Regions from separate parts of the Homo sapiens genome. Here regions 1, 2, 3 and 4 are each linked to region 5. Evidence: promoter capture Hi-C in 16 types of primary human blood cells and fetal thymus (Javierre and others, 2016). All regions are on one chromosome and are shown on one strand. The core of a region is centred on a gene start or on the middle of the fragment in contact, and the rest is flanking DNA. Distances in the headings are between cores, read along the strand shown. Region 1 overlaps USO1 (USO1 vesicle transport factor). Region 2 overlaps USO1 (USO1 vesicle transport factor). Region 3 overlaps USO1 (USO1 vesicle transport factor). Region 4 holds the start of LOC105377284 (a long non-coding RNA gene). Region 5 holds the start of CDKL2 (cyclin dependent kinase like 2).

Evidence for each region. Contacts are between HindIII fragments. The CHiCAGO score rates a contact against its expected background, and 5 or more counts as called.
Region 1: a contact is called between a fragment that was not itself captured here and the fragment with the promoter of CDKL2 in region 5, in 1 of 17 cell types (total CD8 T cells). The highest score is 5.1, in total CD8 T cells.
Region 2: a fragment that was not itself captured here is called in contact with the fragment with the promoter of CDKL2 in region 5 in 3 of 17 cell types (total CD8 T cells, naive CD4 T cells and naive CD8 T cells); the score reaches 6.8 in total CD8 T cells.
Region 3: a contact is called between a fragment that was not itself captured here and the fragment with the promoter of CDKL2 in region 5, in 8 of 17 cell types (total CD4 T cells, total CD8 T cells, naive CD4 T cells and 5 more). The highest score is 8.5, in total CD4 T cells.
Region 4: a contact is called between a fragment that was not itself captured here and the fragment with the promoter of CDKL2 in region 5, in 3 of 17 cell types (activated CD4 T cells, megakaryocytes and neutrophils). The highest score is 6.7, in activated CD4 T cells.

What each region holds. Positions count from the first base shown.
Region 1 is chr4:75,761,214-75,763,913 of GRCh38, forward strand. All of the region lies in intron 4 of USO1 (USO1 vesicle transport factor), which reads left to right. Among named protein-coding and RNA genes, the nearest start is that of USO1, 38 kb to the left of the region's middle. The HindIII fragment of the contact is 2,755 bases long and covers 1-2,700 here.
Region 2 is chr4:75,799,554-75,802,253 of GRCh38, forward strand. USO1 (USO1 vesicle transport factor) reads left to right here. Exons shown (of 24, transcript NM_003715.4): 14 at 69-179; 15 at 798-916; 16 at 1,065-1,246; 17 at 1,526-1,647. Among named protein-coding and RNA genes, the nearest start is that of USO1, 76 kb to the left of the region's middle. The HindIII fragment of the contact is 509 bases long and covers 1,002-1,510 here.
Region 3 is chr4:75,782,764-75,785,463 of GRCh38, forward strand. It overlaps USO1 (USO1 vesicle transport factor), which reads left to right. Exons shown (of 24, transcript NM_003715.4): 9 at 1-95. Among named protein-coding and RNA genes, the nearest start is that of USO1, 60 kb to the left of the region's middle. The HindIII fragment of the contact is 1,528 bases long and covers 644-2,171 here.
Region 4 is chr4:75,821,169-75,823,868 of GRCh38, forward strand. LOC105377284 (a long non-coding RNA gene) reads left to right here and starts at 1,349. Exons shown (of 5, transcript XR_938891.2): 1 at 1,349-1,912. The HindIII fragment of the contact is 3,434 bases long and covers 1-2,700 here.
Region 5 is chr4:75,629,164-75,631,863 of GRCh38, forward strand. CDKL2 (cyclin dependent kinase like 2) reads right to left here and starts at 1,365. Exons shown (of 14, transcript NM_001330724.2): 1 at 879-1,365. The HindIII fragment of the contact is 1,829 bases long and covers 855-2,683 here.

The DNA.
Region 1 (2,700 bases), core at 91-2,590, 130 kb after region 5:
TTGTGTGTATTTCCTGGAAAAAAGTTTTTAGACAGTTCATTTAAAAATACTTGCCAAGTGCAGTGGTGCATGCCTGTAGTGCCAACTACTTGGGAGACTAAAGTGGGAAAACTGCTTGAGCCCAGGAGTTCGAGGCTGCAGTGAGCAATGATTGCACCTGTGAATACCCACTGCACTCAAGGCTAGACAACATAGTGAAACCCTGCCTCTAAAAAACAAACAAACAAAAATCTATAAAAGTAATATTTCAGTATGTATACATATATTTTTTACCTATATTCAGTAAGAACTGGAAGGTATTCTAGTTCAGAGAATGTATATTGATATTGTCCCTTTAAAATAATGCATACTCAGTAATGATGTTTTAGTTACTGACATTTCTTACCTTAACTCGTAGAACTCACTAGTTTTTTTATTTTCTTCTCTCTAATCTCTTTTAAGTTTCATTTACTTTTAACATTGATACTTGTTTTCTTCATAACTAAAGTAACCAAGTTTTTTTGGTTTGTTTTGTTTTACCAATTTCCTTGAGGTGCTTAACTTTTTTAAATGAAGAAGGAAATATTCGTATCTAAAGCAGTGTTTAAAAGGTACATCACAAAGTTGCCTATATATAATAAAAATACTAACAAATAAACTAACTTATTAAAGTATGAAGCATTACCTTTTGTGACATTTGAATCTCTTGTTTGACATCAGATGATACCAGAGCATTGTGCCTTGACTCTTGTCAAGCTATTTCCTTGCTGGGTAGTAAAGATCAGTAGTTGTTTCTATTATTGTGATACTGTAGAGAGCTTTAAAATTTATCTTTCATGTTTATCTTATGTAATCCTCATAGCAGCCAGTGAGGTAGGTGGTATTTTTCTACTTTCTAAAGATGAGAAAATGGAAGCCCAGAGATGATGTAACTTATATGGTATCACTGAGTAAGTAGAAGAACAATTTTACTTTTTTTTTTTTTTTTTTTTTTTTTGAGACAGAGTCTCACTCTGTTGCCAGGCTAGGGTGCAGTGGCACAGTCTCGGCTCACTGCAACCTCTGCCTCCTGTATTCAAGCGATTCTCATGCCTCAGCCTCCCAAGTAGCTGGGATTAGTGTCACCACACCCAGCTAATTTTTGTATTTTTAGTAGAGACAGGGTTTCACTATATTGGCCAGGATGGTCTCGATCTCCAGACTTCATGATCCGCCCTTCTTGGCCTCCCAAAGTGTTGGGATTACAGGCATGAGCCACCACGCCCAGCCAGAACAATATTTTTAAATACATTTTTTCCTTCCTTTTTTTTTTAAAGTATTTCTTAGATTTTTAATTCAATAAATTGTGGCCAATTTTTCTTTATTTTTCTGACTGGGTTCTTTATTAAATCATGTAATTCACAAAACTAGTTTATAGAATATTCAGATAAATGTTAAAAAGTATACATGTACCTGGCCAGGTACGGTGGCTCACGCCTGTAATGCCAGCACTTTGGGAGGCTGAGGCAGGCAGATCACAAGGTCAGGAGATCAAGACCATCCTGGCTAACATGGTGAAACCCCATCTCTACTAAAAATACAAAAAATTAGCCAGGCGTGGTGGCGGGCCCCTGTAGTCCCAGCTACTTGGGAGGCTGAGGCAGGAGAATGGTGTGAACCTGGGAGGCGGAGCTTGCAGTGAGCAGAGATCGTGCCACTGCACTCCAGACTGGGCGACAGTGCGAGACTCCGTCTCAAAACAAAAACAACAAAAAAAGTATACATGTACCTGTTTAATTAACTACCAGTATAAACGAAGATTATTTGATATTTCTTCACTCTGAGGACTGATTTTATTAGGATATCTCCTTTTATAAAGCAATTTCTTTTCTTCATAATATAGATTGTGAACTTAGTATAGAATAGAATTCCAAAGAGAAGATCCAGAAATGTTTTTAAATATTGTTTACACCTCTGGAAAAAGTACTACTAGAAATACATTTGAAGAGTAAATATATCTATGCATGCGTACTTAAATGCCAGCCATATAAACAGGCCTGAAAACTATCCAGAGCTATACAGACAGATGATGGTTCAACTTCACGATTTTTTGATTTACGATGGTGTGAAAGCAATATACATTCAGTAGAATCTATACTTCGAATACCCATACAACCATTCTGTTTTTTCACCTTCAGTACAGTATTCAGTAAATTACATGAGATAATACTTTATTATAAAATATGATTTCTGTTATATTTTGCCTAGCTGTAGGATAATGTAAGTGTTCTGGGCACATTTAAAGTAGGTTAAACATATTAAATACATTTTCAACCTATGATATTTTCAGTTTTTGATGGGCTTATCAGGACATAACCCCATTGTAAATTGAGGAGCATCTGTGTAAGTACTTAGAACGGGCATTTTTTTATTTTACATTCCTATATTAAATTTATTTTTACTATGGTAACAAAGGGCCATTTCATTTTTATCTTATTTTTTTCATTTACCTTACAATAAATGGTCATTTACAGGTTATAAATGCACAATATAATATATAAACTATAGGCTATAAAAAACTTAGCTATAAAGGTTGTAATCTAATGATTAATGATGAGAGAAGATGGTTTACTTGTTTCATGCCTTTGCTTACACGTATAATTGGTATAATTTCTCATGGTTCTAGTTTTTGTTCACAACTTTTAGATATTAGTGTAGTAGTTTATAGTAGTTTGTAGCTTA
Region 2 (2,700 bases), core at 6-2,505, 170 kb after region 5:
TTAGGGCAACTTTAAGTTTGAAAAATATAAAATGAATGGAAAGATTTCTACCAATTTATCTGTTGCAGGGAAGCAAAATACAAACAAGAGTTGGATTATTAATGTTGCTTTGTACCTGGCTAAGCAATTGTCCCATTGCAGTAACGCATTTTCTTCACAATTCAGCCAATGTTCCATTTGTATCCTTTATGTTTTAGTAACGTACATGTAAGTATTTATATCTTTTTTAGTTTTTCTCCTCAATTAGAAGTAGTTCTATGCCCAAAATATTTGAATTCTCCACTATCTTATCTGTGTTGCAACTTTTTAAACTGTTAAAGTTGTTATGATGCTTGTTTAAGTTGTGTGTGTGTGGTTTGTTTTATGCCGGGTTGGAATATATATATGAAATTTCTTTTTTTTTTTTTTGAAATGAAGTCTTGCTCTGTCGCCCAGGCTGGAGTGTAGTGGCGCGATCTCGGCTCACTGCAACTTCCGCCTCCCAGGTTCAAGCAATTCTCCTGCCTCACTCAGCCTCCTGAGTAGCTAGGATTACAGGTGTGCGCAACCACAACCCGGCTAATTTTGTATTTTTAGTAGAGACATGTTGGCCAGGCTGGTCTCAAACTCCTGACCTCAGGTGATCCACCCACCTTGGCCTCCCAAAGTGCTGAGATTACAGGCATGAGCCACCACACCTAGCCTATATATGGAATTTCTTATGGGAACTCTTATGTGAAGTATTAATGTATGTCAAATTCAAATTGCAAAATGTACTAGATATTTTCAATCCTTAGCCTCCTTAACAAAGATTTCAGCTTACAGGACAAATTGCAGAAAATCTTGGAGAAGAAGAGCAGTTGGTCCAAGGCTTATGTGCCCTTTTGTTGGGCATTTCGATTTATTTCAATGATAACTCACTTGAGAGCTACATGAAGTAAGTAAGGGGAAGATGGTTTTCTAATGGCATCAAGAGATAATGATGCTTTTTTTTTTTTTTTGCCAAAGCATTATGTAGACCAAGCTTTTATGTTTTGTTTTGATTTTATTTTTTTTAAAGCATCTCAATATGCTTATCTCCGTAGAGAGAAGCTAAAACAACTGATTGAGAAGAGGATTGGCAAAGAGAATTTCATAGAGAAACTAGGATTTATTAGCAAACATGAGTTGTATTCCAGAGCATCTCAGAAACCCCAGCCAAACTTTCCCAGTCCAGAATACATGATATTTGATCATGAGTTTACGAAGCTGGTAAAAGAACTTGAAGGTAAGACTGAAGATTTATATTGATATTTGATGGAAAGTAATTATATTTATATTGTACATGTATATTCTGGATGCATACAGGTTATATGGTAACTCTAAAGGTATATTTTCTTCCTAGCTCTTGATCTGTAGCCCATTGAAGGACATTTGGCTTTCAGTAGGATTGAAAAGATTATTTCTTACCTATCATGGAGTTAGGTTATATGTTTTTACTAAGTCTTAGTAGTAAAATAGTATTTAAAACATTTAAAACAAATTTTAAATAAGCTTCCTTTTATAGGTGTTATAACTAAGGCTATTTATAAGTCCAGTGAAGAAGATAAAAAAGAAGAAGAGGTGAAAAAAACATTAGAACAGCATGACAATATTGTGACTCACTACAAAAATATGATTCGAGAGCAGGTAAGTACTAATGAACTGTATATACCCTCTGATTACCAATAGGCACTTTCTGCTTTAAGGGAGCCTTTTTTTCTGACATTTCAAATGAAAGAGGATATAGAAAGCAAAACCCATCATTTTTCAAAGCATCTGAGTATTCAACAAACAGAGTGCTTAATATGTGCTAAGCACCATGCAGCTGATTTATTAGATAATGATGAGTGGATAAAGATGAAACTACAATTGCGGAATCATCAGTTGACATTTTCTTTCCAGGATACCAGTGAACTTTCATTACTTGCATTGTGTTGAGTACCCTAAACCTTCATTATATTCCTTCAAAATGTTTTCTTGACTTTTACTCTCATTTAATTTCTTATGATATTTACCTTGATTGGAATTCTAGAAAGTGCTGAAAAATGAGGTTATTAATGTTGTTAAAATTCCAGTGTCATAAAAAAATACAATAGTGGCAGACCCTGTGGGACAGATTCATCCCCTTCCCTCTACTGCTCTCCACACCTGTCTACTAATTGTGCACAGTTTATGGCAGGTGTGGCAAGTAAAAGCATAGATAGAACCCTTTAAATTGACAACTGTTTATATCTTATTTTCTTCCTCACAATCTACATTACTGAGATTAGTTTGTTTTTTGTTTAGACAGAGTCTTGCTCTTGTTTCCCAGGCTGGAGTGCAGTGGCGCAGTCTCGGCTCACTGCAACCTCCGCCTCCCAGGTTCAAGCAATTCTCTTGCCTCAGCCTCGCAAGTAGCTGGGATTATAGGCGTGTGCCACCACGCTGCCTAATTTTTATATTTTTAGTAGAGATGAGGTTTCACCATGTTGGCTGGTGTTGATCTCCTGACCTCGGGTGATCCCTTCCCTTCCCTGCCTCAGCCTTCCGAAATGCTGGGATTATAGGCATAAGCCAGCGCGCCCAGCCTACTGAGATTAAAATTTTAAGAAAGAATGAAAATATTGTGGTATATTTAGCATTCATTCTAAGCTTTTCAGTTTAAAAGTAAATCAATCAATAAATTATAATCTTAGAATGGTAAAATTTGAATCATCAAAC
Region 3 (2,700 bases), core at 158-2,657, 150 kb after region 5:
CATATATTCAACGTATGAAACCTTGGTTTGAAGTTGGAGATGAAAATTCTGGCTGGTCTGCACAGAAAGTGACCAATCTACATCTAATGCTACAGGTATACTATCCTTAGACATAAATGTGGTAAGAATTTTGACAGTGATCTTTTCAAAGAGAAGAAAATCGCTTGTATTTGATAAATCCAGAATATTTGATGGATTTCAGGTTGGCTTAAAAAAACTGTAATATGGAAATTTGCAGTTATCCTCTAGCTAGAGATCTTGCCTACCCATTACTTAGCTTTGACAGTTATTAACATCTGGCAATTTTGTTTCATCGTTTATTCCTCTCTGCTGTATGATTTTAAAGCAAATTCAGACATACAGTTTCCTGATGGGTTTTACATTAAGGAATAATAGGTTACATTGTTGATTTGAATTTTTAAAAACCTGCTTTCTTCACTTAGGGCTCTAATAGGATAAATTTTAATATTCAAACTATTAAGTTCAAATAAATTCATTCAGTAAGCATTTACTGAGAGCCAGGCACTGGATGCTAGGAAATAAATGATCATGTCCTGCCCCCAAAGATGATTAGTCTGAGTTTTAAGTCCAAAACATGTTAAATTGACAGACCACCTGTGATTTATTGATCCTTTATGGTGAAAGCTTAGTGGTAATAATAAAAGTGAGGACAGTAGGATCCCAAATTATTTCCTCATCAGAGAAAATTTTGAAGTTCTTTGAAGTAGTCTACTTACTCCTTTATTGAATCCTCCTTCTCCAAACTGTTAAGTTTATACTAGTCTCCTTACTTATGAACTCATAATTCTTGTGGGCCTTTGAATGTCTCTGAATTATACCTGTGTTTCTCGGAAGTTGTGGACCTAACTAGATGGTTAGGTCCGCTAGTAATTAGAGGCTGAATGTTGTCCCATGCCATGGGAGTTGCCTGCATAGGACTGATAATTAGGGTAATCTGTGTCCCAGTTTGCCAGTACATTACTCGTTTTGTAATTACTAATAGCATCCTCTTTCACTTCAAAAGTGTCCTGGTTTGGATTATAAATTATGCAGTTACCCTAGTTAGAATATGCCTAAAAACTGTTACAAAAGTATTTACCAGGAGAACTTAGTTACAGAGTCTATTTGTACTCCCAACTCATCATTTCTGTTTTCAAATGTTGGTATTATACATTTAAGAAGTTAATAGTTTTTTAATGTTTTAGAAACAGTGTCACCAAGTGGTAACCTTGATACCTTTGTTCAAAACTGCTTTATTTTGTTTTGTTTTGTTTAAGAGACAGGTTCTTACTTAGTTGCCTAGGCTGAGTGCAGTGGTGTCTTCACAGCTTATTGCAGCCTCAACCTCCCTGGCTCAAGAAATCCCCCCACCTCAGCATCCTGAATAGCTGGGACTACAGGCGCAAGCCACCAGACCTGACTGGATTTTTTATTTTTAGTAGACATGAGGTCTCACTGTATTGCCAGGCTGGTCAGGAATTCCTGAGCTCAAGCAATTCTCCTGCCTCAGCTTCCCAAAGTGCTGCTGTTATAGGTGTGAGCCACATGCCCGGCCTACACTGCTTTCTTAAATAAGGAAATTCCTCTAGAAAAGTAATTTCCAAAATGTGATTAGAGAGGGTGAGAGAATCTGATGATATAAAAAAGCATGTATTTCGTATCAAACAGTGAAAATTTAAATTGTTTGAGGAAGCTACACATGTTTTATGGTTTAGGGTACTATGTAAAGAATTATTCTGAAGGAAGTGTCACTGTTAAAAAGTAAAGTAGGTCAGGTGTGGTGACTCACACCTATGATCCCAGCACTTGGGGAGCCCAAGGCAGGTGGGGATCACTTGAGCTTAGGAGTTTGAGACCAACCTAGGCAACATGGTCTTTATCAGCCCGGTGTGGTGGTGTCCACCTATTGTCCCAACTACTCAGGAGGCTGAAGGGGAGGATCACTTAAGCCCAGGAGGTTGAGGCTGCATTGAACCATAATCACGCCACGCACTCCAGCCTGGGAACAGAGTGAGACTCTATCTCAGGAAAAAAAAAAAAAATTACCAAAAAATTATTAGAGTACAGCATGTAAACAGAAAAATACAGTATTCTCGTTATATAACAAGTTGATTCTTTAAGAATTCTTTACTTTTAAAAAGTGAATAAACTGACTTTCTGTAGCTTAGTAAAGCTTTTATCTCTTACACTTGTCGTGAAGACCGTAAACTCCAAAGCAGAGGAACTGAGTTTAATTCATTTTAATATATTCTCCACCTGCAATACTGAATAGTAGATTCACTCATGACTTTACAGGCCAGGAGTTATCTTCTGCTATTCTGTTAGAACCTGTTGGAATACTTTATGTATAACTTTATTTAGAGTTGCTTGGATTTTAAGTTCTCTATTATACACTAAATAAAAATGCATCATTGTTTTCCTGTTGGGACATACACATTCTGTGTTGGAACTATTCATCATCACAGTTATCATGATTGCATTCTGAGCTACTAAAAACAGAATTGATCTGCTTGCTGAGTTTTAATTCAAATTTTGCAGACTATATTTAGGGAAAACATCTTTTGAAAAGTTTTTTAGTTATAAAATATTTTATTTTTTTAAAAAATTATAGTTTTATGGCTAGTCTACTTTTTATCCCTGCAGGAGTCTCTTCTATGGCATTTTATTGGGAAGATACTGCCAATAGCTCCCAGAAAGTTC
Region 4 (2,700 bases), core at 81-2,580, 190 kb after region 5:
TTCCTGTATTGTATCACTCTATAAAGTTAACAAATGAAGTATTAGAATGAAGTCTGTTATATCATATGAGTTTTACTGGCAACCAAAACCTGTGACTGGTGCTGATAGGGACAGAATTGTATTTGAAGCAGGATTGGCATTCAGATCCTCAATTTGCATCTTCCTGTTTTATGGTCATAATTGGCTCACAGACCCATTTACTGGCAAACCTATTACTGTCAAAGGGAATGAAACCACCATGATTGCCTTGACTAATTGCAGTTAGTCACTCACGTTCCTGGTGTGTAGTAGGTGAGTGGGCAGCACCTCTTAAAGCACACTTCTCGGGGTGGGTGATAGATACATAAACAAAACAAGGGTTATGTTAGGAAGAAGGAAACCTAAACCCTTGCTCCTACACTTTTAAATTTCTGAGCGAATTACAAAACCTCTAAGAATCTTAGTTTCTTCCTGGAGCTAATTATACCTACCTAATAGGGTTATTGTGAAGATTAAAATTATTGAATTTCTTTTTTCTTTTTTGAGACAGAAGCTCTGTTGCCCAGGCTGGAGTGCAGTGGCACGATCTCGGCTCACTGCAAGCTCCGCCTCCCAGGTTCACGCCATTCTCCTGCTTCAGCCTCCCGAGTAGCTGGGACTACAGGCGCCGGCCACCACGCCTGGCTAATTTTTTGTATTTTTAGTAGAGATGGGGTTTCACCATGTTAACCAGGATGGTTTCGATCTCCTGACCTCGTGATCTGCCCGCCTCAGCCTCCCAAAGTGCTGGGATTACAGGCGTGAGCCACCACGTCTGGCCTAAGAGTGGGTTTCACCATGTTGGCCAGGTTGGTCTCGAACTCCTGACCTCAAGTGATCCACCTGCCTCAGCCTCCCGAAGGGCTGGGATTACAGGCATGAGCCACCACGCCCAGCCTTAAACTTTTAATACACACATAAAAGTCTGCTTAGGCTGAGTTATGCTGTAGAAACAAACAAGTCTTAAATTTCAGTGGCTTACCCAAAGGTACTTCTTGTACACATTCATATCTTTGGCATGCCAGCTGTGGCTCTGCTCCAAATCTTCATTTCAAGACCAACACTGAAGAAGCAGCTTCTGGCTGGGTATAGTGCCTCGTGCCTGTAATCCCAGCACTTTGGGAAGGTGAGGCAGGTGTATCGCTTGAGCCCAGGAATTGGAGACCAGCCTGGCCAACATGGCAAAACCCCCATCTCTACAAAAAAAAAATACAAAAATTAGCCAGGAGTGGTGGCACATGCCGATAGTCCCAGCTACTCAGGAGGCTAAGGTGGGAGGATCGCTTGGGACCAGGAGGCAGAGATTGCAATGAGCAGAGATCGTGCCGTTACATTCCAGCCTGGGCAACAGAGTGAAACCCTGTCTCAAAAAAAAGCAGCAACTTCTCTCTGGGAAAGGCAGGTCTTGTGACAGAGGCAAACGAGAGATGGCAGAATCTCACAGTGGCATTTATAACTTCTGCTTTGAAGTGGCAACATTTCCATTCACATGTCATTGGCCAAAGCAAGTCATGTCCAAACTAATATCAATGCAAAGCATAATCCCATAAGGACACATCTGATATAGAGGGGCAGTGAAAATGTCAACAATAATATAATCTATGAGAGGATACAGAAGCATAACCAGTAAATGTTAGTGTCCTTCCCTTTCCTCTTTTCCCTTACTGGTTCCCCCTGAGAAACACAAGTGTACAGCATGGAGAGGCTGTGTGATGTCATAATTAAGAGTGTAGATTCTGAGAACAGACTGCCTGAGTTCAAATCCTTACTCTGCCATTTTCCAGCTGTGTGGCTTTGGGCAAGTTATTTAACCTCTCTGTGCCTCAACTTCTTCATGTAAACTGGCAGTAATAATAATACGAATGCCACAGAGCTGTGGATGAAATGAGCCCATGTAAGTAAAGTGCATAGTACATGGTAAGCCCTATATGAAAGTGTTAACTTTGTTATTGCTCCTGTCATTATTGAAGGAAACCTGGTGGGAAGTCAAAAGACCTAATATAAAATCTCAGCATTATAATTCTTTTTTTTTTTTTTTAAGATGGAGTCTTGCTCTGTCGCCCAGGCTGAAGTGCAATGGCGTGATCTAGGCTCACTGCAACCTCCTGCTGGGTTCCAGCGATTCTCCTGCCTCAGCCTCCAGAGTAGCTGGGATTACAGGTGCGCGCCACCATGCCCAGCTAATTTTTTTTGTATTTTTAGTAGAGATGGGATTTCACCATGTTGGTCAGGCTGGTCTCGAGCTCCTGACCTTGTGATCCGCCCACCTTGGCCTCCCAAAGTGCTGGGATTACAGGCGTGAGCCAGCGTGCCCGGCTGCATTATAATTCTAATAGTGACTTTGAGCAAGTTACATAATTTCTGCAAACCGCTTATTCCTTCGTCTGTAAAATTAGAATAACACTCATTTCTGGAGAGGCCACTTAGGACAATGGTTAAAAGTATGGACTGTGGAGCTGGAATACCTTGGATCAAATTCCAACTCCACCACTTTCAAACTGTGTGACTTTGGGCAAATTACTTCAATTTTATTATCCATAACACAGGGACAATCATCATACCTTACCTTCACAGGAATAGTATGAGAATTAAGTGGATTAACAGTTGACATGCAACATTGTTAGAATAGTGCCTGGTGCTTAACAAAGGTTCATTAACTGTTTGGCACATAGAGGAAGTGCT
Region 5 (2,700 bases), core at 115-2,614:
TAGGCTTTAGGTTTATCATACCAATGACAAAAATAGCTTGAATCTATAACCTGGATTATTTTAAAACATTTTGTAATTGATGTCCTCAATATTTGAAAGCACAAAGTGAACCAAAAAAAATGACTTTAAGCATGTCTGAGGTGTTCTGAAGCATATCCCAAGCTAACATTAATGCAAGTTGACTGCTTCAAGTTTATTCTCCCAACCAATTGCATATCTGGACACACCACATTGAACACACCTGCTTTTTCAAGTGACACTGTCCACAAATACTTTAAAAGTATCACAGCCTACAAAGCCTCCTGTTTCCTGAAACAGTTACTCATAAACTATAACTTCTCATGCCTTCTACTCTTGAACGGAAAGGTAATACAAACGAAAAAGAAACCTGGCCAATGGGCAAGGTGTTATTTCTGGATGGTTCTAAAAGCAACAATTTTGATAAAAATATTTGGAGAATGCTAATTTTTTATTTTGTTTAAGACAGATTAAAGGGCCGGGAGCGGTGGCTCACGCCTGTAATCCCAACACTTTGGGAGGCCGAGGCGGGCGGATCACCTGAGGTTGCGAGTTCGAGACCAGCCTAACCAACATGGAGAAACCCTGTCTCTACTAAAAATACAAACTTAGCCGGGCGTGGTGGTGATGCCTGTAATCCCAGCTACTTGGGAGGCTGAGGCAGGATAATCGCTTGAACCCAGGAGGCAGAGGTTGCGGTGAGCCGAGACCATGCCATTGCACTCCAGCCTGGGCAACAAGAGTGAAACTCCGTCTCAAAAAAAAAAAAAAAAAAAAAAAAAAAAAAAAAAAAAAAAGATTGAAATCTTTTATAGATCAAAGAACGAGATAATAGAAGCTTTAAAACGTACTATACTTACCGTTTCTTCAATCCGTTCGCATAGAAAGACCCAAAGGTTTTCAACTTGGAAACAAATTTGAGGTGAAATGCATATGGTTCGCAGGTCCAAAAGATGCTGCCTAGCAAACTAGCAATTCCAGCGCTGTTGTGATTTCTTCTGCGGACGCAGTCACGAGTCCAGGGCGAAGCAGGCAGGGAGGCAGGTGGGCCTCGGTCCGCCGCAAGCTCACACTTAGGAGGACCACGGGCCGCATGCTGTCGTCGTCAAGGCAACGACCTCACTCTGTCCCCAACCATAGGCACAAAGTCTTGGGAGACAGATACGGCCCAGGTCAGAATGCGTTCACGGCAGGCACCAACACCTGTGAAGGCCAAGGGCTAGAGAGCAATTAGCTGGGTGAGAGGCACCACCTCCCAGCTCGTAAGGCGCCCAGTACCTGGAGCCTGGGAACCTGCACCGCTCCAACTACCCCTGGGCGAAGGCGTTGGCCGCGGAGCTGCAAGGGGGGGCGGTTTCTCACCCGCCCCGAGAGCGCCAGGCCTCCCTTCTTCTGATTGGCCGAGCCGAGTCGTCACGAGCCATGATTGGCTCAGGGCCAACCACCCCGCCCCTTCACCTAGGGCTCGGCCCAGGTTCTGCTCCCTGACACGCAGAGGCCCTGCGTCCCCACACGCCTTGGTTCTCGTCAGGAGGCGCCTTTCTGCCTTCCCCAGCGGGAGGAGGCGATTGTGATGCCCACGCGAAGGGTAAAGGTGGCGGTTATGTAGGACTGCGAAGACTATGCAAAATGCGATACGGTTTCCCTCATAGCATCGCCGCTGGGGCAGGGGCGGGCGCCGGGCGCCCTGAGTCGCGTAGGCGCGGCCTGACCGGGATTCCATGCTTCCTTTCTGTTCTGGGCGGTGGGGCCAGTGTGAGCCAGGTAGGAGATAACGGTGACAGTTTAGGAGGTGATGATTAGTAGGCGAGGCAAGGTGGAAGAAGGTAGGTGATGACAGACCTGACGTTAGGAGGGACCTTGGGAAGGCCAGTCTGGCCATTGAAAGTGAGGGAAAACACTGAGATGGAGGAAGGGGAAGAGAGGGCATGAGTGGAATGGGAAAGCGCTGGGATGGCTGGGGATCTGGAGGACACGCACAACACCCGCGTATGGCAGCCAAATGGGGTGGAGTTAGGGCTTGCGATAAAACTTGCCTTAAATGCAAAAATGCAGCTCAATCCACGACTGAGCAAGACTGGTAGGTCAGAATCATGCACAGGCTTAAATCACACAGGAACAGAGCTTACCCCATTTTCAAAGAATCTGAGGCAGCGAGGAGGCCATAAGGCCAGTAAAATAACACTTTCAATCATGATAACTAAATGTTCATGATCATTTTGGTCTCGAAACTACTTTGATTTAGGGAATAGAGTGTCCTGGATAGACAAATGTCTACCATATACCCTAGTCAATATTAAGGTATTAATCATTAATGTTAAGGTATTGATTCCTTCTTGTACATTAAGAAATAGACATTCTTTTTATAGTCTTTTGTGAGTTTGGTTAGTTTGCATTAATCTCCCAGTGGTTAATTACCTTGGTCAGACTGCTTAAAATCTAGTTCCTGAACCTGTAATATTGAGAACCAGACCTGAGGCCTAGTTATGGAAAGAATAGAATTATTTGGTCAATTCAAGATGTGACTCTTAGTGTAGCAATTAGCTCTGTCCTTAGCTGTGTCCAAGTTGCGAGAAGCCCTGTCCCATTTGGTACCTCTATAGGCTATAAGAGAATCTGATGAACTTCTTTTATATGGGGGTAGATTCAGTTTTGTTGGGCCTGAAGCTTAAGAACAAGAGC